Regions from separate parts of the Homo sapiens genome. Here regions 2, 3, 4, 5 and 6 are each linked to region 1. Evidence: promoter capture Hi-C in 16 types of primary human blood cells and fetal thymus (Javierre and others, 2016). All regions are on one chromosome and are shown on one strand. The core of a region is centred on a gene start or on the middle of the fragment in contact, and the rest is flanking DNA. Distances in the headings are between cores, read along the strand shown. Region 1 holds the start of HAPLN4 (hyaluronan and proteoglycan link protein 4). Region 2 overlaps GATAD2A (GATA zinc finger domain containing 2A). Region 3 overlaps ARMC6 (armadillo repeat containing 6). Region 4 overlaps ARMC6 (armadillo repeat containing 6). Region 5 overlaps SLC25A42 (solute carrier family 25 member 42). Region 6 overlaps SLC25A42 (solute carrier family 25 member 42).

Region 1 (4,071 bases), core at 300-2,799:
GAACGTGGGAAGACTCGGGTGGGGGTCGGGGAATCAGAAGGGTCCAGGGGCTCAGGGAGAGGGCGAGGGGCTCAGATGGGGAGTGGCTGGGGGAACCGCGGACGTCAGGAACGCCCTACCCGCTACCCCTCTCCGCACTTGGCCACTTCTGCTTTTCGCGGAGAAGACCACTTTTAGCGGCCCTGACTCACCCAGCACGTGCACGACCTTCTTCCGGCCACGCTGCGCCCCCGCAGGGGCTGTGAGCAGCAGGACGCCCCAGGCCGCGGCCCAGAGCGCGCCGGGACCGAGGGCCGCCCGAGCGCACACCTGGGGGGCGGGCACGGGGCGCTCAGTCCAGCCTCCCAGCCTTGGCTTTTCGGAGGCCTGGCTCCCTCCCGGGCCTGCCTTCCCCACAGCGAGGACCTCTCTCACGCCCATGTCCCCACCCTTTCCGGGGTCCTGGAGAACTCCCCCTCCTCCTCTTGGGACCTCACATCCTAGCTTCTGCAAGAACCCACGCCCCTAGACTCCCCCCCGCCCTCAGTCCTGCCCCAGATCCCGCCTCATTCCCCCCCACCCCAAAACCCGAGGCTCGCTGCCCCGCCCCCTTCTGGCCCTGGCCCGGGCCGGGGATAGGGGGGTGGGGAAGAGCTGGAGGAGCGGCGGCAGCAAGGTTATCCGTGCGCCAGGAGACTGCAGCAAACCGGGCCGGGGCGGGCAGGGAGGGGGGAGAGCTGGAGAGAAAGAGGGAGAGACGCGGGGAGAGAACAGGGACAGAGAGAAAGGCAGGGAGAGGCAGAGAAGAGAGTGCGCGACACAGAAAAAGGGGAAGGGAAGAGAGAGAGGCAGAGATGGAGAGGGAGAGACAGATGGAAAAGAAGAGACAGATGTAGAGGGAGAGACAGAGATGGAGAGGGAGAGACAGAGAGGCAGAGGGAGAGACAGAGGGGCAGAGGAAGATACAGAGATGGAGAGGGAAAGACAGAGATGGAAAGGGAGAGACAGAGAGGAAGAGACAGAGAAGCAGAGGGAGAGAGAGAGAGGCAGAGGAAGAGACAGAGATGGAGAGGGAGAGACACAGATGGAGAGGGAGAGACAGAGAGGCAGAGGGAGACAGAGAGGCAGAGGGAGAGACAGAGAGGCAGAGGGAGCGACAGAGAGGGAGAGGGAGAGACAGAAAGGGAGAGGGAGAGACAGGAGAGTGCCAGAGGCAGAGAGACTCAGAGAAGAGGAGGGAGAGATAGGGACAGGGAAAGACAGAAACGGAGAGGAGAGGAAAAAGGCAGAGAGGATGACAGAGATGGAGAGAGGCAGGGAGAAATGGAGAGGGAGAGAACCTAGAGTGCCAAAAAGAGAGATCAAAGAGGGTGAGAGACAGAGAAAAGGAAGAGACAGAAGAAACTCAGAGGGATATAGATTCAGAGGCAGAGAGATATAGAATCCAAGATTGGGGAGACGGGGCACACACCACCCGCGCCCGCAGCCCCACTTACCATCTTGCCCGCGCGGCCCCCGCCGAGCGGCCCCTACGCACCCGGACTGCGCTCCCCGCACACCCGGTTAAGACTGGGCAGGTCCCTGCAGGCGGCGCAATCCCGGCGTCTGCCTGCAAGGGGAGGAGGAAGGCGGGCGAGGCGGGGTGTATTAAAGGGGCCGCGGGGGCCCACGCTCCCCTGGAGCAGTGGCTGGAGCGCGGGCGGAGAAAGAAGCGCTCTGGACTTGGAGTGCAGAGCTAGTTCCCTCACCCTGCTAGCTGAACTTAGGCCAGGGAAGAACCTCTCTGAGCCTCAGTTTAACCATCTTTGAAATGGAGGAGGGGGCTGAGTCTTCTATCTTGGTTACTGTGCTTTGGCAGGGGACCTGGGGGATCTGGTGAAAGAGATCATTTGGCCTGCAGGCCACCTGTCCATTGGGTAGTCATAGTGGAGTCCTGGTCTCCAGCACCCCAAAGGCGCTCCCTGTGCAGGGTGGGGGCCTCACGATAGTCACACTCTGCTGTGGACTGGAGCCACAGGCCCCAATTCAAGTCTGCCCCTCACTGGCTGTGAGACCTTGGAGGAGACAGTTGGCCTCTCTGAGCCTGCTGCTGACTCTTTGGTGAAGATCCAGTAGCTAGACATACAGTAGATCTCCGGTAGGGGTTGGGAGGGGCAAGAAAAAGGGACATCTAGGCCGGGCGCGGTGGCTCACGTCTGTAATCCCAGCACTTTGTGAGGCCAAGATGGGAGGATCACCTGAGGTCAGGAGTGCGAGGCCAACCTGACCAACATGGAGAAACTCTGTCTCTACTAAAAATACAAAATTAGCCAGGTGTGGTGGCACATGCCTGTAATCCCAGCTACTCAGGGGGCTGAGGCAGGAGAATTGCTTGAACCCAGGAGGTGGAGGTTGTGGTGAGCCAAGATCGTGCCATTGCATATCAGCCGGGGCAACAAGAGTGAAAACTCCGTCTCAAAAAAAAAAAAAAAAAAGAAAAAGAAAAAGAAAGAAAGAAAAGGAAAAGGGACATCTGGTCAAGGTCCCTGACTTACTCCAGGCCCAAGTCGCCCCTAAACCTGGCCTTTCACCCAATTTCAAAAAATCAAACAATAGCAAACAGTGAGTCTTTCTCCTAACACCTTGGCTTCCTTCCAGGACTCAGTTTCCCCTAAAATGAGCCCAACCCGACCAGATAGGAGAGGCAGAGTTGTGGTTTCTGTGGTCCAACAGGCTGGGGCTCCATCTCTTAGCTCAGCCATGCCTTGGGGACTGAGCGGGGGAATGATCTCAGACCAGGACCTTCACCTCCTGCAGCCTTGGTTTCCCCATCTGGAATATGGAGTGAGATCCAGCATGTAGCAGTCAAGGTATACAGTAGGTGCTTAATAAATGTATCATGCTATTAGTTATGATTTATTGGTAGAGCAGGAACTTTTCTCTCTGGCCATGACCTTGGGCAGGTCTCTTGTCCATACTGAGCCTCGGTTTTCCCATCTGGAAGATGAGCCGTGCATACCAACCAGAGGCCGCCTTCTGCTATCCCAGCACCTCTCACTCCTGGCAACCACGATGGCAGTGATAGGTGGGCCCTCATGGGGGCCAAGAAGAGGATCCCTTGCCCCTGCACCCTGAAACACTTAGGCAGTGATATTTTGGAAATTGAAAGGGTTTTTACTGAAAGGATCCATGGGGGGATGATGGGTAAGTTCTGGAAGGGGTAGAAGCGTTTGTGTGGGAGTTGGAGCATGGTGACAGCTGTGGGAGGCTCTCCTTGCAGGAACACTTGGTCGTTGGTCTCCATCCCACCCACTGGACTGAAACTACCATAGCCAAGACTAAAGACACCCGGAGATGTCCCTCCTGTCTCTAAAACACCCAACCCCCGCTTCCCCAGGTAGGGCTGACTGGGCACGTAAACAGAGTCCTGGGTCCTGAGTCCACAGCTCTCTCAATGCTGCTTCTTGTGGAGGGCTAGGGGGTCGGAGGGTGGTGGCTGGTGGAAGAATGCGGGCCACTGAAGGCAACGGTAGGCCAGCAGGTGGGGGCCCAGCGCATACAGCAGATTGCACACGAAGAAGCAGCCCCAGGTGTCCTCAGGCACACGGTAGGTGAAGGGTGTGCGCAGGTGCATGGAAGCCCCCATGTGCGAGAACTGTGCCTGGTAGCCAGACAGGGAAGATGGATGTCAGGGGCCAGGAAGGAACTGAAATCCCAGCATCACCGACAGCCCCCCAGGTAGGTCAGGCAGAACCCAGGGGATGCCCATCCCCACCTCTCGGGCTTTGCTCATCTATCTGTTTCCCATCTCCAGTCCATCTATCTGTTTTTTTTTTTTTTTTTTTTTGAGACACAGTCTCATTCTGTTGCCCATGCTGGAGTGCAGTGGTGCAATCTCGGTTCACTGCAACCTCCGCTGCCTCCTGGGTTCAAGTGATTCTCGTGCTTCAGCCTCCTCTGAGTAGCTGGGACTACAGGCGTGCACCTCTATGCCCAGTTAATTTTTTGTATTTTTAGTAGAGATGGGGTATCATCATGTTGCCCAGGCTGGTCTCGAACTCCTGAGGTCAGGCAATCCATCCATCTTGGCCTCCCAAAGTGCTAGGATTACAG
Region 2 (3,924 bases), core at 989-3,488, 240 kb after region 1:
GAAAATACAGAGAGAAAAGACTGTGGCAATGGCTTGTATTTTCCTCCCCCAGGTGAACAAATATTACATTTAAGGGTTTTCCCCAGTGTCTCCCCTTCACTTGAGGGTCCTTTGTGGAAATGTGTGTCTTGCGTTGGCTACTTTGTGTGTTAATGAGAGACCCTTACTGGACGCATTAAAATTTGAGCTGGGCACAGTGGCTCGTGCCTATAATCCCAGTGCTTTGACAGGCCGAGGTAGGAGGATTGCTTGAGGCCTGGAGTTTGAGACCAGTAAACAACAACAACAACACTTGAGGGTAGGAGATAGTTTTTTTTTCCTTTTTTTTTTTTTTTTTCTTCTTTTGGAGAAGCTTCTTGCTATGTTGCCCAGGCTGGAATGCAGTAGCGCGATCATAGCTCTCTTGCAGCCTGGATCTCCTAGGCCCAAGCAATCCTCCCACCTCAGCCTCTGGAGTAACTGGGACTACAGGGATGTGCCACCATGTCCAGCTGATATTTTTTTTAGAGATGGGGCCTCACTATGTTGCCCAGGCTGGTCTCTATCTCCTGGCCTCAAGCAGTCTTCCCACCCCCCAGCCTCTCAAAGTGCTGGGATTCTAGGCTGAGCCTCCGTGCCCAGCTAAGATAGTTTTTCATTGCTGCATAGTATTCCATCCTGCATTATTGTCCTGTTGCACACATTTGTTTATGGTTTTCCACTGTTCTAAGCAGCACCGTGGTCAGCACCTTCATTTCTGTAGAACGTAGGTAGCTGCTCACCCTCTGATGATTGCCCCACACTTGGGATTACCTTGGCAGAGCCTGGCAATGTCAAGGCCATTGAGTTGCTGCCTAAATACTCTTCAGCTCTGGGGGGGCCTGGGATTTGAAACGTTGATTGAGGAGTAGTGTGGGTGGGTTTGCAAGGGCTCCTGGGTCCTTAGTCTGTATTGGGGCTGGGGTCTAGGCAGCTATGGCTGGGCTCCTCCCAGGAGCCCTCCTGACGAGGGCCTTCTCAGCTGGTCGCTCTGTTCTGTTGCAGGCGGGACCCTTGCGTTTGTCAGCCCAAGCCTGGCGGTGCACAAGAGCTCCTCGGCCGTGGACCGCCAGCGAGAGTACCTCCTGGACATGATCCCACCCCGCTCCATCCCCCAGTCAGCCACGTGGAAATAGTGCGAGCCAGGCCCCGTGGAAGACGGGCTCCCTCCTCCCCCACCTGGCCCCTGGTCTAGAAGGACCCACTGCACCACCCTCCGCTGGCTCGGGAAGACACCGTGCCCGCCCCAAGAGCAAGCACCGGCCATGCTGCAGAGGCAAGACCTCAATTCTTGGCTGCAAAGTTTCATCAGGGCTAGGGGGCTGGTGCCGCCTCATAGGCAGACGAGGATCATCGCTGGGGGACCTTTCCCGTGGGCTTTCTTCCTTTCTCTCTTTGCCTTTAGTTTGCCCGACACCAGCAGAAAAGTGGACCTTGGGGGCTGGTTCTGCTCCTGGCCCCCTTGTTCAGCCCCTGCCGGCACACGGGCGGCTCACCCTGGACACTGTGATGCGCATGGGCAAGGCCAGCGCCCGGGGCTTCTGAACCGAGCGGGGTGTTTCATTTTTTTGCTTTTCCCTGTCTTAGGCTCCCAGTCTTTGACTGCCTTCCCATGGCGATCTATAAGTTGAAAGATTTTTTTTTTTTTTAATCACCTCATGATGATGGAGTTAAAAGTAAACCGTGCAGACCCTGGGGTCCCTGTTGTACGCTGCATCATCCCGCTGGCCCTGTGCCCTGGAGGGTGGGCGGCTCATGGTGCCACAGCCCCTGGCAGGGACGGCCGGCCCGCCCCCGTGACTGACTGACAGATGCAGGGATGGCCGAGGCAGCCCTCGCTCCAGCTGAACGCCTCCATTGCTGCTTGTTCTGGAGACCCCCGCCCCCGCACCTTCCAGACTTAGCAGAAGAACAAACTGAAGAACAGACCCAGCCAGAGAAGCAGGGATTCCAGAAGCTGCCCATTAAGGGAGAAGGAGAGGATCCGGTCGGCAGCAGCCCTGAGCAGAAAGCTGGAGGGGGGACTGTCGCGGGGTTTTTCTGTTGTGGTTTATTTTATTAAATTTTTTCCTTTTTTCTATTCATTTCGATGGACGCAATCTTAAGCCACCCTGGCCTTGCTCCTGGGAGGTGAGCGTGCACAGGTGTGTGCAGGTCAGGAGGTGCCGTCCAGGTGTGCGGCGAGCCGCTGCGCACAGATGTCAGGATTTCCGTTTGGGTCTAGTTTAGAACCTGTCCTTAAACCTAGGGGTTGCTGTCAGGATTTGCTTTCAGACTTTTTTTTTTTTTGTAATTCCCTTTAGAGTCTACAAAAATGTTTTTAAAAGGATCAGGTCTGCTTTTAGTTTCATTTTTGTTTCTTTCCCGTCCCACTCTTTAAAAACTGGTTCCGTGAGGAAAGGCAGAAGCCGTTCCGTGTCTCTTGCAGGCTGGGCCGGCTTCATGCCAGTGCGAGGGCGTCCCGTGCCCACGTACATACGTATGTCTCCATGAGTTCTGGGCTCCACTGGTTCCAATTGAGCTCCAGCCCTGGTTTTCCTACCCATGCAGTTAGGGACTTTAATTTAATTTTTTTTTTGTAGGGCCACCGCCTTCAAACACAACTGCTACAACATTCTAATAAAGGCTCATTTAACCCCCAGGCTCCTGTCGTGTGAATATCCTCAGTCTGTAGGAAACTTTTTTTGACACAGCATAGAAGACCTAGTTTTGGAAAACATTATCTAATTTTTTGTTGTGCAAATCCCCAAATTTCTCACTAATTTTTGTTTTTTTGTGCATAACTTGGATGGGCTGAAGGAGGTGAGGACAGATTGGGGAAGGGTGGCTTTCATTCCAAGATCCAGGGATTTGGGGAAAAGGAAGGAATTTGATGTTTTTTGGGGTGGGAGGGGAGGGTGTGTTTTTTACACCAAAAAAAAAAAAAAAAATCAAGAGTATGCAAGCATTTCTATTCCTCGCATTTTTCTGTGTGCCTGGCAAATAAATACCTGTCTCCTACGACCCTGAGCTGTTAGCCCTCTCTGTTCCATGACAGGGGCCAGATCTTCCAGCTCCTCCCAGAAGGAGCACCCAGGCTGGCTTCTTCCCACTGAAAGCCCTCCCCAGCGAACCAACCTCAGTTCTATGCAGTGGCTGGGGATCAGGCATCCAGACCGAAGTCACCTCTGCCTGCTCCAGCTTGGGTCAGCTGGGTCTGACCAGGGGGCCAGATCCGAGCCGCACCTGCCGGCCCCCAGCCCCAGCTCCAGCTCCTGACCTCTCCCAGCCTGGCCTGGCTGTTCCTCCAGGGCTGATGGCTGTCAACCCATCCTTGTGAGTTCATATGGACTGCTGCCCCTCGAAAGGGAGAGGGTCGGCCCCATGTCCCCAGGGAGCATTCCATCAGGGACAACGTACATACTGTGATGTAAACTTTTTTTTTTTCCCCCCAGGGGGCAAAAGTGTGAGATGCCTTAATCTTTCCTTCATTTCTGCTGTCTCGAACACTCTAGCCCATTATTTCCTTTCAGTTCCTTGCAGCATAACCTCTACGATAAGCCCCAAGCGGGTTGTTGTATTATGACGTTTATGATGTTCCAGGTGAAGGCATTATTAAGTACCTCTCTGGGTGTGGGGTTTGGACGCACCAGGATAGCTATTGATTAATGTTAAGGGTGTTCTACCCACAGCAAAGCACACCCTCTTAAACCAGGCACTGCCTGGGTCCTGGTCCCGAGAGCCCTACCAGGATCAGGTTCCTGCAAGCCGTCAGAATGTGGGAGCCCCCAGCCCAACTGATTGTAACTGTCCCCTGTTACCTGTGACATGAACCTCCAACAGCACCTGGAAACGGTTCCCTCTGTCAGCTGCTCTGTAGACAGGGCTGGGGAGATCTCAGAGTTCACACCTCGCCTGTTGTAGGGG
Region 3 (4,077 bases), core at 1,194-3,693, 210 kb before region 1:
GGAGAATTCCAGGCCAGCACTCAGGGGCCAGGAGCAGGCCACAATCCCATCTCTGGAGCTGTCTGGGGAAGGGGCTTGCTGTGTCCAACTCCAGGGGCTGAGAGTGGGGAAGGGGGACCTCCCCAGAGGGAAATAAGAGGACTCGGGGGGGCTGGCTGGCATGCACCATGGCAGTCTCAGCTGGATGTGTACACGCTTGATCATATTCAGCCACAAATCCTTAGGCATATTCATGTGTCTGGCTCCAGGGTGACCATGGTGAGCCAGCCCTGGGAGGTCACAGTGCTGACCGTCAGACCCTAAAGCTTCTGTCTTAACCCCTACCCCCATCCCATCCACTGAACCCACCAGAAAAGTCCTGATTGACACACAGAAGGTGTTAGGAGGATGAGTTCCCCTTTCTTGCCTGCCCCGTCACTCTGGTTCTGTGGCCAGGCCTGTGTGGGGGTTCTGGCTCTGTCTGCTGAGGAGATGGGCCCACCTCAGTCTCCCTTCCACACCTCCAGCAAGGCTGAAAATGAGTCCCGACCTTCTGCAAAGTCAGGCTGCTTTTCCAGGAGGTAGCTCACATCTTTCCTGTTTTATTTATAGGAGCTCCAATCAGTTAGGTTTCTGCCAGAGACAGGATATGTATATATGAAGAGACTTTTTGGTAAGGAATGGGATCATGCAATTATGGCAAGTCTGTACTCCATAGGGCAGGCTGGAAACCCCCAGGCAGTCCCCTTTTCGGGGAAACACCTCAGTTTCCTTCTAAGGACTTCAGCTGATGGAATGAGTCCCATTCACATTGTTCAAGGTCATCTCCTCTACTTAAAGGCAACTGGGCTGGGCATGGTGGCTCATGCCTGTAATGTCAGCACTTTGGGAGGCTGAGGTAGAAGGATTGTTTGGGCCCAGGAGTTCAAGACCAGCCTGGGCAACATGATGAAACCCTGTTTCTACTAAAAATACAAAAATTGCTGGGCGTGGTGGTGGGCACCTGTAATCCCAGTTACTTGAGAGGCTGAGGCACAAGGATCTCTTGAGCCTAGGAAGGAGAAATTGTGGTGAGCCAAGATCACGCCACTGCACTCCAGCCTTGGTGACAAAGCGAGACTCTGTCTCAAAAAAATTAATAATAATAATAATAATAATAGATAGCTGATTGTGGATGGTAACCATGTGGACAGAATACCTCCACGGCAACACCTAGATTGGCATTGGGTGGAACTGCAGAGGGCTACAGGTGGTCACAGGAACTGACCGTCGCAGCCCTGTGTAGGTGCAGGATCTTCGCCCTCTTGGCGTGAGTGCCGGCACCTGCTTCCTGGTGCAGCGCCTCTGGGCTCCATCTGCGGCTCCTGTGTTCAGTTTTGGCCACGTCAGCCCAGTCCGTATGTGTCCCTCTATGGTTCTGGAGTTTCCTGTTGCACTTAGAGAAGCCATTCCTACCCCATGATCATAAAAATAGTCTTCAGATGTCTTTTTTTTTTTTTGCACTATTATAGTTTTCTTTTTTTAGGTGAGACCATGAGTTGGTATGGAATTTATTTGGGGCATGATGGAAGGAAGCGGGTTGGGGGGCACATTCTTAAGTCTTCCCAGCAGCCAGCAGGGGGCACTGCAGGCCCAGGTAGCCCCTGGTGTTCCCTGGGGCCTTCCTGGTGCCCGTGGCCACTCCAATAGGCAGAAGGGCTGGACTCTTCCAGTGGAGCAGGATCTCCACCAAAACAGAGGGCCCTGCGGCTGGTTCTTCCCGCCCCCACCACCGTCTCCCTTTCTCCCTGCAGCGTTCCTGGATAACCCTGGCATCCTGAGCGAGCTCTGTGGAACCCTGTCCCGCCTGGCCATTCGCAACGAGTTCTGCCAGGAGGTCGTCGACCTCGGGGGCCTGAGCATTCTGGTGTCCCTGCTAGCCGACTGCAATGACCACCAGATGAGGGACCAGAGCGGCGTTCAGGTATGAAGTCCCCCTGGCCCATTGCGTGCTGTCCTTCTGGGTCCCAGTCAACCGGACGAGCTATAGTCAGAACAAGCCAGCCCTGCCTGCCAGTGTCGGAACCAAAGTGCAGTTTTTCTTTTCACGGACCCAAGGGCAGGAACCAAAGGTCGGGGGGGAAACAAACCCACCTGCTCTCCCTTATTGTCCTTTTGCACCAGGAAAAGGATGGTAGGAAGCATAGGGTTGGGGTGTGTCGGCCAAGGCTGGGATACTTGGGTTAGTTCCCGCACCTCTGCCTCAGTTTCCCTAGCTACAGAATAGAGCAGTGTCCCTACTCATTACTCCGTTTAGCAGCCGATTATTGAGCCCTTCTCCATGTGCCCATCCACAGCAGGGAGCCAATCAACAGGTGCCTCCCTATCCAGCTGCAGCTGCAGGAAAGCCCCCAGGGGTGCCACGGTCCTGCGCCCCCAAGCCCAGCTGTTGACGTCAGCCAGCCTCTTTCTGTGCAAGTGGCCAGGAGCTGAATGGGAACCAACTTCAGCAAATGAAGGGATACATTTTGCCCTGTACTCCTGGGCAGTTGGGGGCAGGGTCCTCAGGTTCTCCATCGGGGGATCAGCAGTCCCAGTAGCACCTCATCCACTGTCCTCAGTGCAGGGCAGTTAGCGCCTACCCTGGGTCTGTGGCCGTGGACAGGGGGACCCTGTGCTCTGAAGGCCGGCCTGAGTCACATGCCCCCGCTGCCCCTGTCGGGGTAGGGGATCAAGTCACCTGGATGGTACCGTTTGGACACAGGCAGCCTGAGCCACAGGCATCTGCCACCCCTTCTCGTTAGTCACACCCTGCAGTCACACCATACCTGTTGGTCAAACAGCAAAACAGCCCCACATTCTCCCTCAGAGCCCTCTCCCACAACCAGCGGCCTGGCTGGAGGTGAGCGGGCCTTTCCCTTGTGCAGGAGCTCGTGAAGCAAGTGCTGAGCACCCTGCGAGCCATCGCAGGCAACGACGACGTGAAAGATGCTATTGTCCGTGCTGGTGGGACGGAGTCCATCGTGGCTGCTATGACCCAGCATCTGACCAGCCCCCAGGTACCCACCTCGGGGGGCACACACAGTAGCAGGGTGGTGGCTGGAGTCCCAGTTCAGTTTCTGTATCTGCATGAAGCTCTATTCCCCTGCAGGGCCAGGGCAGGGCTGGTGAGGGTCGTGGGCATTGGCTCTCAAATGCTGACCTGCGTATGCATGACTTTGGGTGTCCTGGAGTTACCACCAGCACCCTGCAAAGATCTGACCAGGCCTATTGCCCTTGTCACCCCTAAGAGCTGAGCTGATATTTTTGTCACCCTGCCATTATTACACAGGAGTTGCCAGAGACCCACGGAGGGGAGGCCGCAGGGTGTTCACCAGGGGTTGGTGGCCATGGCAGGATGTTGTGGGGGGTCTATCTGCTGCATCTCAGCCTTTCTGTGACTGGCCCCTGCAGGTGTGTGAGCAGAGCTGCGCGGCCCTGTGCTTCCTGGCCCTGCGTAAGCCCGACAACAGCCGCATCATCGTGGAGGGTGGCGGGGCTGTGGCAGCACTGCAGGCCATGAAGGCACACCCGCAGAAGGCCGGCGTGCAGGTGGGCAGGGCAGGGGATGGGGGCAGGCAGGCTGGTGTGGGATGTGCAGGTAGGTGCAGAGAGGGCATGGGAGCAGGTGCGGTGTGCGGGTGGGTGATGGGGCAAAGGCTCAGTCCCTATCCCTATCCCTGTCCCTGTCCCTCCCACAGCCGAGCCCCATAGGGCCAACTTCTTTCTCATCTTGCAAAATGTGCTGAATTCTGCCTTCATTTGCCTCCTTCTCTGCCTTTGTTTTTTCTGCATTTACTCTCCTTTTTTGGGGAGGGGGTAGTTTGGAGGGGCTTTCTGGTGAAACCCTGGAAAGAAAGCTATAACACGTAATCTCCTTCTGTGGGTTTTTTTTTTTTTTTTTTGAGACAGTCTCACTCTGTCGCCCAGGCTGGAGTGCAGTGGCGCCATCTCAGCTCACTGCAACCTCTGCCTCCTGGGTTCAAGCGATTCTCCTGTCTCAGTCTCCCGAGTAGCTGGGATCACAGGCATGGGCCACCACGCCCAGCTAATTTTTGTATTTTTAGTAGAGACAAGGTT
Region 4 (4,100 bases), core at 329-2,828, 230 kb before region 1:
ACCGCACCTGGACAGCACAGTTTTCTTGATGAGCAGATTCCTGGCTGAGAGAAGGAAACTGGCTGCCAGTTAGGGGCCTTACTCATCTTCTGTTTTACCCTCAGCATGCCCTGATGGATAATAGGGACTGGTAATGCTGCTTCCCCCTTTTAGCCTAGGCTGTTCTCCAGGTAATTCTTACTTGGCCATCTCCAGGCACCATCTTATGTGTTCCAAATCTGTACTTTCCTCCTCCAACTCAGCCCTGTACCAGATCTAGGGGACCTTGGAGGACTCAGGTCAGGGGTGGTCACAGAGCCAGACCTTCCCAACTCAGTCAGCTCAGGGGTGGGTGGAAGGGAGGGGTTGTGGGTTGGGGAGTGAAGCCAGAGAGTGTGGGCTCTCTGAGTGGCCAGGAAAGGCAGCCACCTGGAAGGGCTGGCAGAAGCTCCACAGAGGACTGAGAATCCGAAGTATTTGAGACAGGTGTCAATCAGTTAGAAAGCTTATTTTGCCAAGGTTAAGGACATGTCTGTGACACAGCCTCAGGAGGTCCTGACAACATGTACCCAAGGTGGTTGGGGCACAGCTTGCTTTTATACATTTTAGGGAGACGTGAGATATAAATGAATATGTGTAAGATGGTCACAGGTAGAGACAAATGATTGCTTTCTTTTGAGTCTTTGGTCAGCCTTTCACAGAATACACGATTTATATGGGGTACAGGGCAGGTAGAGGAATAGTCATTTATGCCTCAGTCCGACTCATGAATCTGAGGTTTTGTTTCTTGTTTTTTGTTTTATTTTTTGAGATAGAGTCTCGCTCTGTCGCCCAGGCTGGAGTGCAATGGCGCAATCTTGGCTCACTGCAACCTCCACCTCCCGGGTTCAAGCAATTCTCTTGCCTCAGCCTCCTGAGTAGCTAGGATTACAGGCGCCCACTACCACGCCCAGTTAATTTTTATATTTTTAGTAGAGACGGGGTTTCGCCATGTTGGTCAGGCTGGTCTCGAATTCCTGACCTCAGGTGATCCACCGGTGTCAGCCTCCCAAAATGCTGGGATTACAGGCATGAGCCACGGAGCCAGGCCAAATCTGCATTTTTACATAAACGTTAGGGCAGAGAGAGCAACTGGATATGCATTTGTCTCAGGTGATGACTTTCTGTCCTGCACTTGTGAAGATCACCTGTCAATTTACATTGCCAGGGTGACATTCAACAAAATTGTTTTCAGGTAAAGATCTTGAGGGCCACAAGGAATTTCCTGGCCTGGCCGGGGTGGTGGGAGTGGAGTCCCCTACTCCTTACTCCCTACTGAGAAACTCTTTATATTACTCTTCCTTCACCTTTAACCTTGGAAATCCATAGCAGCCCTTAAAGAGCTCCCTTTTCTTCTGGGGCAGAAAGGAGAGGGGCCTATCTGCAAAAGAGTGAGATGGGACTCCTGCATAAACTTGCTGAATTGCCTCTTAAGCAACAAAGGAAAGGAACAAATAGCTAATTTATTGAGCCTGTCCATATCCTGTTCTGAGGAAGGTATAGGAGTTGGCTGAATTTTTCACTACTGCCCTATGAAGTAGATTCGTGTTTATCTCTGTTTGACACATGAGGGAATTGAAGAAAAGTGTATCTGGCTGGGCGTGGTGGCTCATGCCTGTAATCCCAGCATGATGGGAGGCCGAGGCAGGTGGGTCACCTGAGGTCAGGAGTTCGAGACTAGCCTGGCCAACATGGTGAAACCCTGTCTCTACTAAAAATACGAAAATTAGCTGGGCGTGGTGGCGTGGGCCTGTAGTCTCAGCTACTTGGAGGCTGAGGCACAAGAATCGCTTGAACCCAGGAGGCAGAGGTTGTGGTGAGCCAAGATCGTGCCACTGCATTCCAACCTGGGCGACAGAGCGAGACTCTGTCTCAAAAAAAAAAGAAAAGGGCATTGAAGTGGAGGGCATGGGAACTGGGTTCTGCAGGCTGGCTGCGAGCCAGTCCTTCTCCCGTCAGGCAGTGTGCAGTCCATGGTGGGCATCTGCAGGAACACAGATGGAATGTGTATATCCCATGCCACTGCCTGAAAAGAGAAGCATGGGCCAGAGTGACCTGTTTCTTTTTCCTTTTTTTTTTTTTTTGAGACAAGGTCTTACTTTGTCACCCAGGCTGGAGTTCAGGGATATGATCTCAGCTCACTGCAGCCTTGACCTCCCTGGGCTCCCACCTCAGCCTCCCAAATAGCTGTAACTACAGGTGCATGCTCCCACACCTGGCTAATTTTGGTATTTTTTATAGAGATGGAGTTTCGCCACGTGTCCAGGCTGGTCTCAAACTCCTGGCCTCATGTGATCCTTCCGCCTCGGCCTCCCAAAGTGCAGGCCACCATGCCTGGCCTGAAGTGGAAACTTGATAATTCCAGAACGGAAACTTGATATTACTGCAATAAGCAAGGTGGATATATTGAAACAATTAAAATTTAAAAAGTTGTTAACCTCTGTTAGGCTCTGGACCTAAGGCCTGTTCCTCCTTTTGTTCCAAAGGGACGGTGGCAAATGTTAGGTTCACTCGTACCCTGTCAAGACCTTCTGGTTAAGATCATCTACAGCAGGGGTCCCCAATTCCTGGGTCACAGACCCATACTGGTCCAGTGGTCCCTGGCCTGTTAGGACCTGGGCTGCACAGCAGGAGGCAAGCGTAGGGTGAGCGAGTGAAGCTTCATCTGTATTTACAGCAACTCCCCATCACTTGCATTATGCCTGAGCTCTACCTCCTGTCAGATCAGCAGCATTAAATTATAGGAGCACGAACCCTACTGTGAACTGCACATGCAAGCGATTTAGGTTGGGCACTCCTTATGAAAATCTAATGCCTGATGATCTGTCACTATCTCCCATCACCCCCAGATGGGACTGTCTAGTTGCCAGACAACAAGCTCAGGGCTCCCACTGATCCTACATTACAGTGAATAGTATAATTATTATATTACAATGTAACAATAATAGAAATAAAGTGCACAATAAATGTAATGAGCTTGAACAATCCTGAAACCATCCCCACCCTAGCCCCACCATATCCATGGAAAAATTGTCTTCCACGAAACTGGTCCCTTAGGCTAAAAAGGTTGGGACTGCTGAGCTACAGGTTTGAAACAGAATTGCAAAGGGATTTGGTGTTTTTACCAAGAGTTTTATCTTACTTAACTCTATGTCTTGTTCCCACCTGTCAGAGTGGAAGGTACTGCCCAAGGTTAGTGGGTCATCTAAGTGTTGATACCTACCCCTGGTTTCCAGGGTATGCCTATACTGGGTTTTACTTGTTTGTTTATTTATTTATTTTTTGAGACGAAGTCTTGCTCTTGTTGCCCAGGCTGGAGTGCGATGGCGTGATCTTGTCTCACTGCAACCTCCACCTCCCTGGTTCAAGCCATTCTCCTGCCTCAGCCTCCCGAGTAGCTGGGATTACAGGCGCCCCACTAATTTTTGTATATTTAGTAGAGACGGGGTTTCGCCATGTTGGTCTTGAACTCCTGACCTCAGGTGATCTGCCTGCCTTGGCCTCCCAAAGTGCTGGTATTACAGGCATGAGCCACCATGCCTGGCCTTACTTGCTTATTTTTATTTTATAAGGTGGGTTTGTGTGTATACACACACACACACACACACACACACACATTTTTTTTAAGAGATATGGTCTCACTGTGTTGCCGCAGGCTGGTCTCAAACTCCTGTGCTTGAGTGATCCCCCCGCCTTAGCCTCCCAAGTTGCTGAGATTACAGGCACAAGTCATTGCTCAGTTCTTTTTGTTTTTAAACAGATTAGCACTTTAAGAAATTGAGCTATAATTTACATACCATAATATTCACTCATTTGATTTAGTAATTTTTTTTTTTCTTCTGGAGACATGGTCTCCCTCTGTCATCCAGACCGGAGTGCAGTGGCCCAGTCACAGCTCACTGCAGCCTTGAACTCCTGGGCTCAAATGATCCTCCTGCTTCAGCCTCCCGAGTAACTTCAACCACACGCAAATGCCACCACACCTGACTATATTTTTAAATTTTTTTGTAGAGACGGGGCCTTACTATGTTGTCCTTGCTGGTCTCAAACTCCAGACTTGAAACAGTCCTCCCACCTTGGCC
Region 5 (4,264 bases), core at 1,073-3,572, 170 kb before region 1:
TCCCAGCTATTCAGGAGGCTGAGGTGGGAGGATCACTTGAGACCAGGAGGTCGAGGCTATAGTGAGCTATGATTATGCCACTGCACCCAAGCCTGGGCAACAGAGCAAGACCCTGACTATAAAACAGCAGCAACAACAAAAAGAATGTCATGAAAACCTGTGTCTCTGATGGTTGCAGGCATTGGTGCCCTGGGGCCCTCTTCCTCTTGAGACAGGGAGGGTGGCGGGTGCTGGTGGTGCTGGGACTCCCTCCTTGGCCTCACCAAGGGATGAGGCAGCTGGAACAGAAGCAGGCCGCTCTTGTGCTGTGGGATCATGCACTGGCTGTGGTGGCCCACCGTGCTCCAGGCCTCATCCTCAACCCTCCCCACTGTGTCTGTGTCTCCTACTCTGTCTCTTACAAGGACACCAGTCATTGCACTTAGGGCCCACCCTAACCCTCATCTAGAGATCTTGCCTTAATCACATCTGCACAGACCCTTTTTCCTAAAAGCGTCACATTCACAGGTTCTGGGGGCAGGGTGTATCTTTCAGGGGCCATCGTTCCACCCCCTCCAGTTACGTCCCCCAGCCCCAGCTGCCCTCAGTGCTCTGTCACCTGCAGGGCCTAGCACACTTGTGTAGTTCCAGCCAGGTTGTGCAGTGACTTTGTCTATGTCTGTGGGTGCCACTCGAGGCTGAGCCCTGGCCCTGGGCAGGTGATCCAGTGAAGGATGGTACCATGGGCACTGCAGGCAGCCCTGTCTGGTGGCTCTTCTTGTTCACAGAGGCTGGGCAGGTGCAGCCAAGGGAGGGTCTGAGGCCACAATGCCCTTCTGGGGAGACTGTTCCTCACAGGACTGTGACCTCCTGAGGAGCTCAGAGCAAGAGCCCACAGGAGGGTGGGAGGGACCCCCTTCGGCCAGGACCCAGGCCTCGGGCACCTCACCCACTGTTGGGGTATAGCAAATGGCTGAATCCTTTCTGGGGAAGGTGACTTTGCAGAACATGTCCAGGCCACCTGACCCAGCACCTCGATTCTAGGAATCAAGGAGTAGAGAGGCTGCGCCGTTCTCACCCAAGCGCCCAAGTGCAAGGACAGCCCCCAGGGTCTGTAGCGGCAGGGGTGGTGCTGGGCAGTAGTCAGACATGGCTGATTGTTGTGGGGGGCGGAGTGAAACAGACGCAGTGCATCCCATGGGCTGATGATGAAAGATGCCGACCCCCAGCAACCGGCTGGGAAAGGTCTTTAGGACCTGGTTTCTGTCTGTTTGCAAGCAGTTTAGTTTATTTTTATTTTTTGAGACCCAGTCTTGCTCTGTCACCTGCGCTGGAGTGTACTGCTGAAATCACGGCTCATTGAAGCCTCAACCTCTTTGGCTCAGGTGACCTTCTCACCTCAGCCTCTCGAGTACCTGGGACCACAGGTGCATGCCATCATATCCAACTAATTTTTTTCTCTAGAGACGGGGTCTCACTATGTTGCCCAGGCTTGTCTCAAACTCCTGGGCTCAAGCGATCCTCCTACCTCAGCCTCTCAAAGTGCTGGGATTCCAGGTGCGTGCCACCACGCCCAGCTGAGAGCAGTTTTAGATTTACAGAAAAATTGCAAAGGCTGTACCAAGTTCCCCGACACCGCACACATCTAGCGTCCCTTACGCATAACCTCTCACAGTGCTGTGCTGCATTTGCCTCACTAATGAACAAGTGCTGAGATGGTATTAATATTAATGGAGCTCCACACTTTATTCACGTTCTTCCATTTTTCCTGAATGTCCTTTCTCTGTCCAAGGATCCCACCTGATCTTTAGTCCTCACATCTCCTTAGACTCCTCTGGGCTGAGACGGTTTCTCAGGCTCTTTGTTTTTGGTGACCGTTACAGTTTTGGGGAGCAGTGGTCAGGGCTGCTGGAGAATGCCCCTCCGGTGGGATGTGTCTGGTGTTTTTTCCTTTCTTTCGAGACAGAGTCTCGCTGTGTCACCCAGGCTGGAATGCAGTGGCGTGATCTCGGCTCACTGCACCCTCCACCTCCTGGGTTCAAGTGATTCTTCTGACTCAGCCTCCTGAGTAGCTGAGATTACAGGTGCCTGCCACCATGCCTGGCCAATTTTTGTATTTTTAGTAGAGACAGGATTTTGCCAGGTTGGCCAGGCTGGTCTTAAACTCCTGAGCTCGTGATCTGCCCGCCTCAGCCTCCCAAAGTGCTGGGATTACAGGCGTGAGCCACTGCGCCCAGCCTGATGTTTTTCTCACGGTCAGATGGGGTGATGGATCTGGGGGAGGAAGACCCTAGTCGTCACACTCCATCAGAGGCACATGCGTCCACCTGACTTATCCCAGCCAGCGTTGTCCTGGATCACCTAGCCCAGCTGGGATCCATCAGGTTTCTGTGCTGCAGTCACTGACAGCCCCCTTTCCAGACTGCACTCTTTGGAAAGAAGCCGCTAAGCGCAGCCACACCTGAGGGCAGGAGGCATGGCCCCTCTTGGAGGTCCGAGCTGCTGTGCTATTTGGGAATCCTTTGCCTGGGAGATTTGTCTCTTCCCTACCATGTACTTACTTACTCTGTCATTTCTTTATATTATATGGACTCATGGTTATTTTATAGTTCAGGCTTTCATCCATGATGCTTTATGTTTTTTTCCATTTCTACTCAAACTGTTCCAGCTTTGGCCATCAAGGGTTCTTTCGGTGGGTGCCCATGACCCCCTCGCCACACCCATCTGCTTTGGTTTCTGTTTCTGAACATGCCCTCCATGACTGGCACCTCCACGTACGTGCTCTAGGCTCTTCCTTTCTCTCTGGCCCCATCTTTGAAGCAGGTGTTTCTCCCAGAGCCAGTGCCCATGGGTCCATGTTCACTAGGAGAGTCAGCAGTGGAGGCTGGTGTAGCAGAATCCCAAGTGCACTTTGTACAGCGTCACTCACCGGCACTGATGCCTGCTCTGGGGCCTCTGCACCCTTTGCTTCACTTTGCAGTAATGCGTTTTCATTTACTGGATGATTTTAAAGCGTGGGAACTAACCAGGCACGGTGGCCATGCCTGGAATCCCAGCATTTTGGGAGGCTGAGGCCAGAGGATCGCTTGAGCCCAGGAGTTCCAGACCAGCCTGGGCAACATAGTGAGTCACTGTCTCTACAAAATATAAAATGAAAAATAAAAATTAGCCAACCCAGTCGGACGCGGTGGCTCATGCTTGTAATCCCAGCACTTTGGGAGGCCACGTTAGGAGGATCACACGAGGCCAGGAATTCAAAACCAGCCTGGCCAACATGGCAAAACCCTAGCTCTACTAAAAATAAAAAAATAAAAAATAGCTGGGTTTGGTAGTAAACGTCTGTAATCCCAGGTACTTGAGAGGCTGAGGCACAAGAATTACTTGAACCTGGAAGGCGGAGGCTGCAGTGAACCGAGATCATGCCACTGCATTCCAGCCTGGGCTACAGAGGGAGATTCTGTCAAAGCAAAAACAAAAACAAAAAAAAACACCCTTAGCTGACCAAGTGGGAGGATCACTTGGGCTCAGGAATTTGAGGCTGCAGTGAGCTATGATTGTTCTACTGCACTTGAGCCTGGGTGGGGGAAAAAAAAAAGGCCAGGTGCGGTGGCTCATGCCTGTAATCCCAGCACTTTGGGAGGCTAAGGCAGGCAGATCACCTGAGGTCAGGAGTTCGAGACTAGCCTGGCCAACATGGTGAAACCCCATCTCTACTAAAAATAAAAAATTAGCTGGGTGTGGTAGCAGGCGCCTGTAGTCCCAGCTACTTGGGAGGCTGAAGCACAAGAATTGCTTAAACCTAGGAGGTGGAGGTTGCAGTGAGCCAAGATCGTGCCACTGCACTCCAGCCTGGGTGACAGAGTGAGACTCCGTCTCAAAAAAATAAATAAATAAAAAATAAAGTATTTTGGTGGACAGAGACCCTCGGGTCCGAGCTGACACAAGCCCACTGGACGTTTGGCCTGACAGTGGTATTGGCACCGAGCACCTCGGTGCCCACTGGATGTTTGGCCTGACAGTGGTGTTGGCACTGAGCACCTCGGCCACGCTGGCCCCACAACCCGCTGGTAGCTGTGTGACCTTGGCTGGCTGCTTAACTTCTCTGAGCCTGTTTGCTCCCTGGGCACCAGATTTGGAAAAAGAACAGACTGTTTGTGAGGATTACATTCCAGTACCAACAAGAAAGGCTTTTGTAAATGATTAAGCAGTACACACAGGACCGTGGCTGCGGAATGCAGTTGAGGGCATCCCTCCCCACGCAGGGAGCCAGAAACTGGGATAGGAA
Region 6 (3,844 bases), core at 1,129-3,628, 150 kb before region 1:
TCTTGCTTGTTTTGGTAGTTGGGAGAAAATCAAAAAGTACAAAGAATGATATAATACTCATACCTGCCACTGCATGTGAACAGGCATTCACATTTTGCTACATTTGCTCCCAGATATTTTGTTTTTTTTCTTTTTTGTAGAGATGGGGTCTCCCTCTGTTGCCCAAGTTGGTCTCAAACTCCTGGGCTCAAGCGATCCTCCTGCCTTGGCCTCCCAAAGTGCTGGGATTAAAGGTGTGAGCCGCTGCACTCAGCCCACTCCCAGACATTTTTTGTCAAAGAAATAAAATGTTAGGGGTAACGCTGAGGGCCCAAGTCTCTCTCCTGAGGCCTCTTATTAGAAGTGAGGGTTGCACCCCTCAAGACTGCTTTGAAAATACTTCTGTATGTATTTATCTGTGGCATGAACAAAACCATGTCACCTTTCACAGGTATAAAAAATGCTCCAAGTGGAGTCAGCTCACCCGGGAGTGCAGCTCCCAGCTCAGCTGGTTTGGGGTGCATCCACCAGCATCTGTGCTCTGTTCCGCCTTTTTAGTGGCTGCACAGTGGGCCTTACCTTCTTGGGGTGCCCTTTGGCTGTTGCCAGGTTTTCTGTGATCAGCCGACATCCAGGAGCTCGTCTCCTTGTGTGACTGTAAAACCCCATTTTCGGTGTTTCTCTCTGGAGTGCTTTCCAGCCCCTTGACCCCACGTTCTCACCCCACGTGATGCCATCAGACCCCTTGTTTTTGCCCACCTGGTGAGCAGATCACAGTGTCTCCTGTCTGGCTGTTTTTTTGAGACGGAGTCTCACTCTGCCGCCCAGGCTGGAGTGCAGTGGAACGATCTCAGCTCACTGCAACCTCCACTTCCTGGGTTCAAGCCATTCTCCTGCCTCAGCCTCCCTAGTAGCTGGGATTACAGGCGCCCACCACCACACCTGGCTAATTTTTGTGTGTTTTTGGTAGAGACAGGGTTTCTCCATGTTGGCCAGGCTGGTCTCCAATTCCTGGGCTCAAGTGATCCGCCTGCCTTGGCCTCCCAAAGTGCTGAGATTACAGGCGTGAGTCACTGCACCCAGCCTTGGCTGTTTTAAATTCCTAGTTCTAAATTTACTATTACAAATGTTTAAAGTACCCCTACTGACCTGTTGCTGCTCCTTCCTCCTCCACACCCACACACCCCGTTTAGACCCGCAAGACAGAGCAGGGTGAAGTTCATGGTCACTTATGTCCACTCTGTGCAACAGCTCGCAGGGGCTCCCCAGGGAGGGCGCAGGTCGGGGACCAGGCACGGGAGCACCTAGAATGTTCCTTTACTAGACGTGGAGTAGAGCTGATTAGATGTGAGCAGTGGCTCTAGGAGTTGGTTCTATGATTCTCTGTGTTTCTGCCTTTTAAGAAATTTTATTTCTCGGCCGGGCTCGGTGGCTCATGTCTGTAATCCCAGCACTTTGGGAGGCCGAGGCAGGCAGATCGCCTGAGGTCAGGAGTTTGAGACCAGCCTGACCAACATGGAGAAACCCTGTCTCTACTAAAAATACAACATTAGCCAGGCGTGGTGGTGCATGCCTGTATTCCCAGCTACTTTGGAGGCTGAGACAGAATTGCTTGAACCCGGGAGGCGGAGGGTGCAGTGAGCCGAGATTGGGCCATTGCCCTCCAGCCTGGGCAACAAGAGTGAAATTACATCTCCAAAAAAAAAATTTTTTTTATTTCTCGAGTTTGAGTGAAAGGAGCGACCCGGAGGTGAGGCAGTGGGGCGTGTGGGTGCGCATGAGTGCGAACACACGTGGGGGTGCAAGTGCATGTGTGTATGTGCACGCAGGTTGCTCCTAGGGGTGCAAAGGCGCGCGCACGGGTGCGGGGTGCGCGCCCCCTCGCGGCGCCTTCACGGCCCTCCCGCCCCTCGCCCTGCAGAGTACAGCGGCCGCCGGCAGCCCTACCCCTTCGAGCGCATGATCTTCGGCGCCTGCGCTGGCCTCATCGGGCAGTCGGCCTCGTACCCGCTGGATGTGGTGCGGCGGCGCATGCAGACGGCCGGCGTCACGGGCTACCCGCGCGCCTCCATCGCCCGCACGCTGCGCACCATCGTGCGGGAGGAGGGCGCCGTGCGCGGCCTCTACAAAGGCTTGAGCATGAACTGGGTCAAGGGTCCCATCGCCGTGGGCATCAGCTTCACCACCTTCGACCTCATGCAGATCCTGCTGCGGCACCTGCAGAGCTAGGGGACCCTGAGCTGCTCTCAGGACGGTGGACCGGTGACCCCTTTGTATTCTGGGCCCATGGAACGGTGGGGGGGTGCGCTTGATTCTACTTCAGGAGGCACATGGGGCGCTTTATGGAACGAGCAGGTGGGCCTGAGGGGCCTGGGCTCAGAGTCCACGTCCAAACGCAAAGCTGGCAGCCCTGGAAGTGCAGTGTTGGGGCGATGGTGTGGGGGGTCCCGCAGCTCCCCTCTTCCTTCCTCTGCAGACGCTGGCGCTGTCTGCCGGAGGTGTTGCCCAAAAGGCCCTAGTGGGGCGTGGTCAGCTCCACCTCCTGATCCTGTGTGTCCTCCGACATGCTGCTGATTCTAGTGACCCCTGTCCCCACCAGGCTCAGAGCCAGACCGCGCCTGGACCTTCTTGTTCTGACTCCACGTGCCTGCCCGGCCTCCAGGGTGCGGGGGCGCCTTTCTTGCAGGCGGACCCTGCCCAGGATGGGGCCAGCCTCGTGCTCAGCTTTGGCCACAAATGCAGCCCCTGGCCCACCCCACCCTGCCGGCCCTGCCTTCTCCAGTATTTCCCACATGGCCACGACTCCTCAGTCACTAGAGCCTCCTGCTGGGAACAGTGTCCCCCAGAGCCTCATGTCTATCCTAGACCCTGCAAGCAGCTGGGTCCCCAAGAGTGCATCTCCCCCTAGAGTTGCCTGCCCATGCCCACCTGCTTTGTAACCTTCCCAGGAGATTCATGCTTGCTCTGCACAGCAGGGCTCGAGGCCCAGGCCATGACACGGAACTGCCTCAGGTTTGGGTCAGACCTGCATCCTGGGGCATCTGCTGAAATGTGAGCACACAAACCACCTCCTTTGGCCCAGAAGCCCCCCAGGCCTAGCATCTCAGTGCCCCAACCCTCTGCCCAGCTGTGGTATCCAGCAGGTCCTTGGGTCCCCACTTGAGCAGGCACTTGGCTGGGATATGGAGCAATTTAAAGCCCACAGGGGTTGTTCAGTTTCTATGAAATGGAGCATGGGGTGCCTGCTAGCCTCAATCCCCCGAAGTGGGAGCCTCATGATAGAGTATAGCTTGGGGGTGGGAGGTGAGGAAAATCTGAGGTACCCAGGGGAACCCCCAGCTAACTGGTCTCTCAGAGGAGTCCCCCAGGGCCCGCCAGCTATCACAGGGACTCAGAAACACCCATTTCCTAATGACATGGTGAGTTTCTTGATTTCTTTTTTTTGTTTGTTTTGTTTTGGTTTTCAACTTGGCTGACCCCGGGTCTATGATCTATTCACATCGAACCCCTGACTGGTCTGCCTGGTGCCAGGGTGAGCGTGACCGTGAGTGTTGCTTTCGACAGCTGGCTCAGCACACGCTGTGTGAAGGGATCTGAGCTTGTTCATCTCCAGTCGTGACTTCATTTCCCTTCCTTCTGTCCTCCTCCTGTTCTTGCCTTGGACCTGCAGGTGTGCAGACCGCTCTCTCTGCCTTCCTTGCATGTGGCCACCAGCCATCCCTGATCTTGTCCCCAGAGGCCCAGGCAGCCTGTGATGGCTGTGAGGGGCTGTCCCACTGTGTGGGTATCCCTTACCCAGCACTTAAACTTGGCAGGAGAGGCAGGGCAACCCTCACAGGGAGATGGGAGGGCACCCAACTCCCAC

The links. Contacts are between HindIII fragments. The CHiCAGO score rates a contact against its expected background, and 5 or more counts as called.
Region 2: a contact is called between a fragment that was not itself captured here and the fragment with the promoter of HAPLN4 in region 1, in 3 of 17 cell types (monocytes, erythroblasts and M1 macrophages). The highest score is 6.0, in monocytes.
Region 3: a contact is called between a fragment that was not itself captured here and the fragment with the promoter of HAPLN4 in region 1, in 5 of 17 cell types (M1 macrophages, M0 macrophages, M2 macrophages and 2 more). The highest score is 12.6, in M1 macrophages.
Region 4: a contact is called between a fragment that was not itself captured here and the fragment with the promoter of HAPLN4 in region 1, in 2 of 17 cell types (M1 macrophages and M0 macrophages). The highest score is 10.7, in M1 macrophages.
Region 5: a fragment that was not itself captured here is called in contact with the fragment with the promoter of HAPLN4 in region 1 in 4 of 17 cell types (M1 macrophages, M0 macrophages, M2 macrophages and 1 more); the score reaches 10.7 in M1 macrophages.
Region 6: a fragment that was not itself captured here is called in contact with the fragment with the promoter of HAPLN4 in region 1 in 5 of 17 cell types (M1 macrophages, M0 macrophages, M2 macrophages and 2 more); the score reaches 11.2 in M1 macrophages.

What each region holds. Positions count from the first base shown.
Region 1 is chr19:19,261,255-19,265,325 of GRCh38, forward strand. HAPLN4 (hyaluronan and proteoglycan link protein 4) reads right to left here and starts at 1,550. Exons shown (of 5, transcript NM_023002.3): 1 at 1,476-1,550; 2 at 192-309. The coding sequence starts at 1,478. TM6SF2 (transmembrane 6 superfamily member 2) reads right to left here. Exons shown (of 10, transcript NM_001001524.3): 10 at 3,112-3,619. The coding sequence ends at 3,410. The HindIII fragment of the contact is 10,345 bases long and covers 1-4,071 here.
Region 2 is chr19:19,504,321-19,508,244 of GRCh38, forward strand. GATAD2A (GATA zinc finger domain containing 2A) reads left to right here. Exons shown (of 12, transcript NM_001384528.1): 12 at 1,024-3,924. The coding sequence ends at 1,154. Among named protein-coding and RNA genes, the nearest start is that of TSSK6, 9.3 kb to the right of the region's middle. RefSeq lists an enhancer at 673-1,173. The HindIII fragment of the contact is 3,777 bases long and covers 351-3,924 here.
Region 3 is chr19:19,052,380-19,056,456 of GRCh38, forward strand. ARMC6 (armadillo repeat containing 6) reads left to right here. Exons shown (of 9, transcript NM_001199196.2): 6 at 1,773-1,942; 7 at 2,886-3,017; 8 at 3,412-3,549. Among named protein-coding and RNA genes, the nearest start is that of SLC25A42, 9.6 kb to the right of the region's middle. RefSeq lists an enhancer at 1,641-1,700. The HindIII fragment of the contact is 4,281 bases long and covers 304-4,077 here.
Region 4 is chr19:19,035,293-19,039,392 of GRCh38, forward strand. All of the region lies in intron 2 of ARMC6 (armadillo repeat containing 6), which reads left to right. Among named protein-coding and RNA genes, the nearest start is that of ARMC6, 3.7 kb to the left of the region's middle. The HindIII fragment of the contact is 2,193 bases long and covers 483-2,675 here.
Region 5 is chr19:19,091,758-19,096,021 of GRCh38, forward strand. All of the region lies in intron 1 of SLC25A42 (solute carrier family 25 member 42), which reads left to right. Among named protein-coding and RNA genes, the nearest start is that of SLC25A42, 30 kb to the left of the region's middle. RefSeq lists an enhancer at 3,021-3,520. The HindIII fragment of the contact is 6,803 bases long and covers 1-4,264 here.
Region 6 is chr19:19,108,669-19,112,512 of GRCh38, forward strand. It overlaps SLC25A42 (solute carrier family 25 member 42), which reads left to right. Exons shown (of 8, transcript NM_178526.5): 8 at 1,901-3,844. The coding sequence ends at 2,208. Among named protein-coding and RNA genes, the nearest start is that of TMEM161A, 28 kb to the right of the region's middle. RefSeq lists a silencer at 1,763-1,952. The HindIII fragment of the contact is 6,628 bases long and covers 1-3,844 here.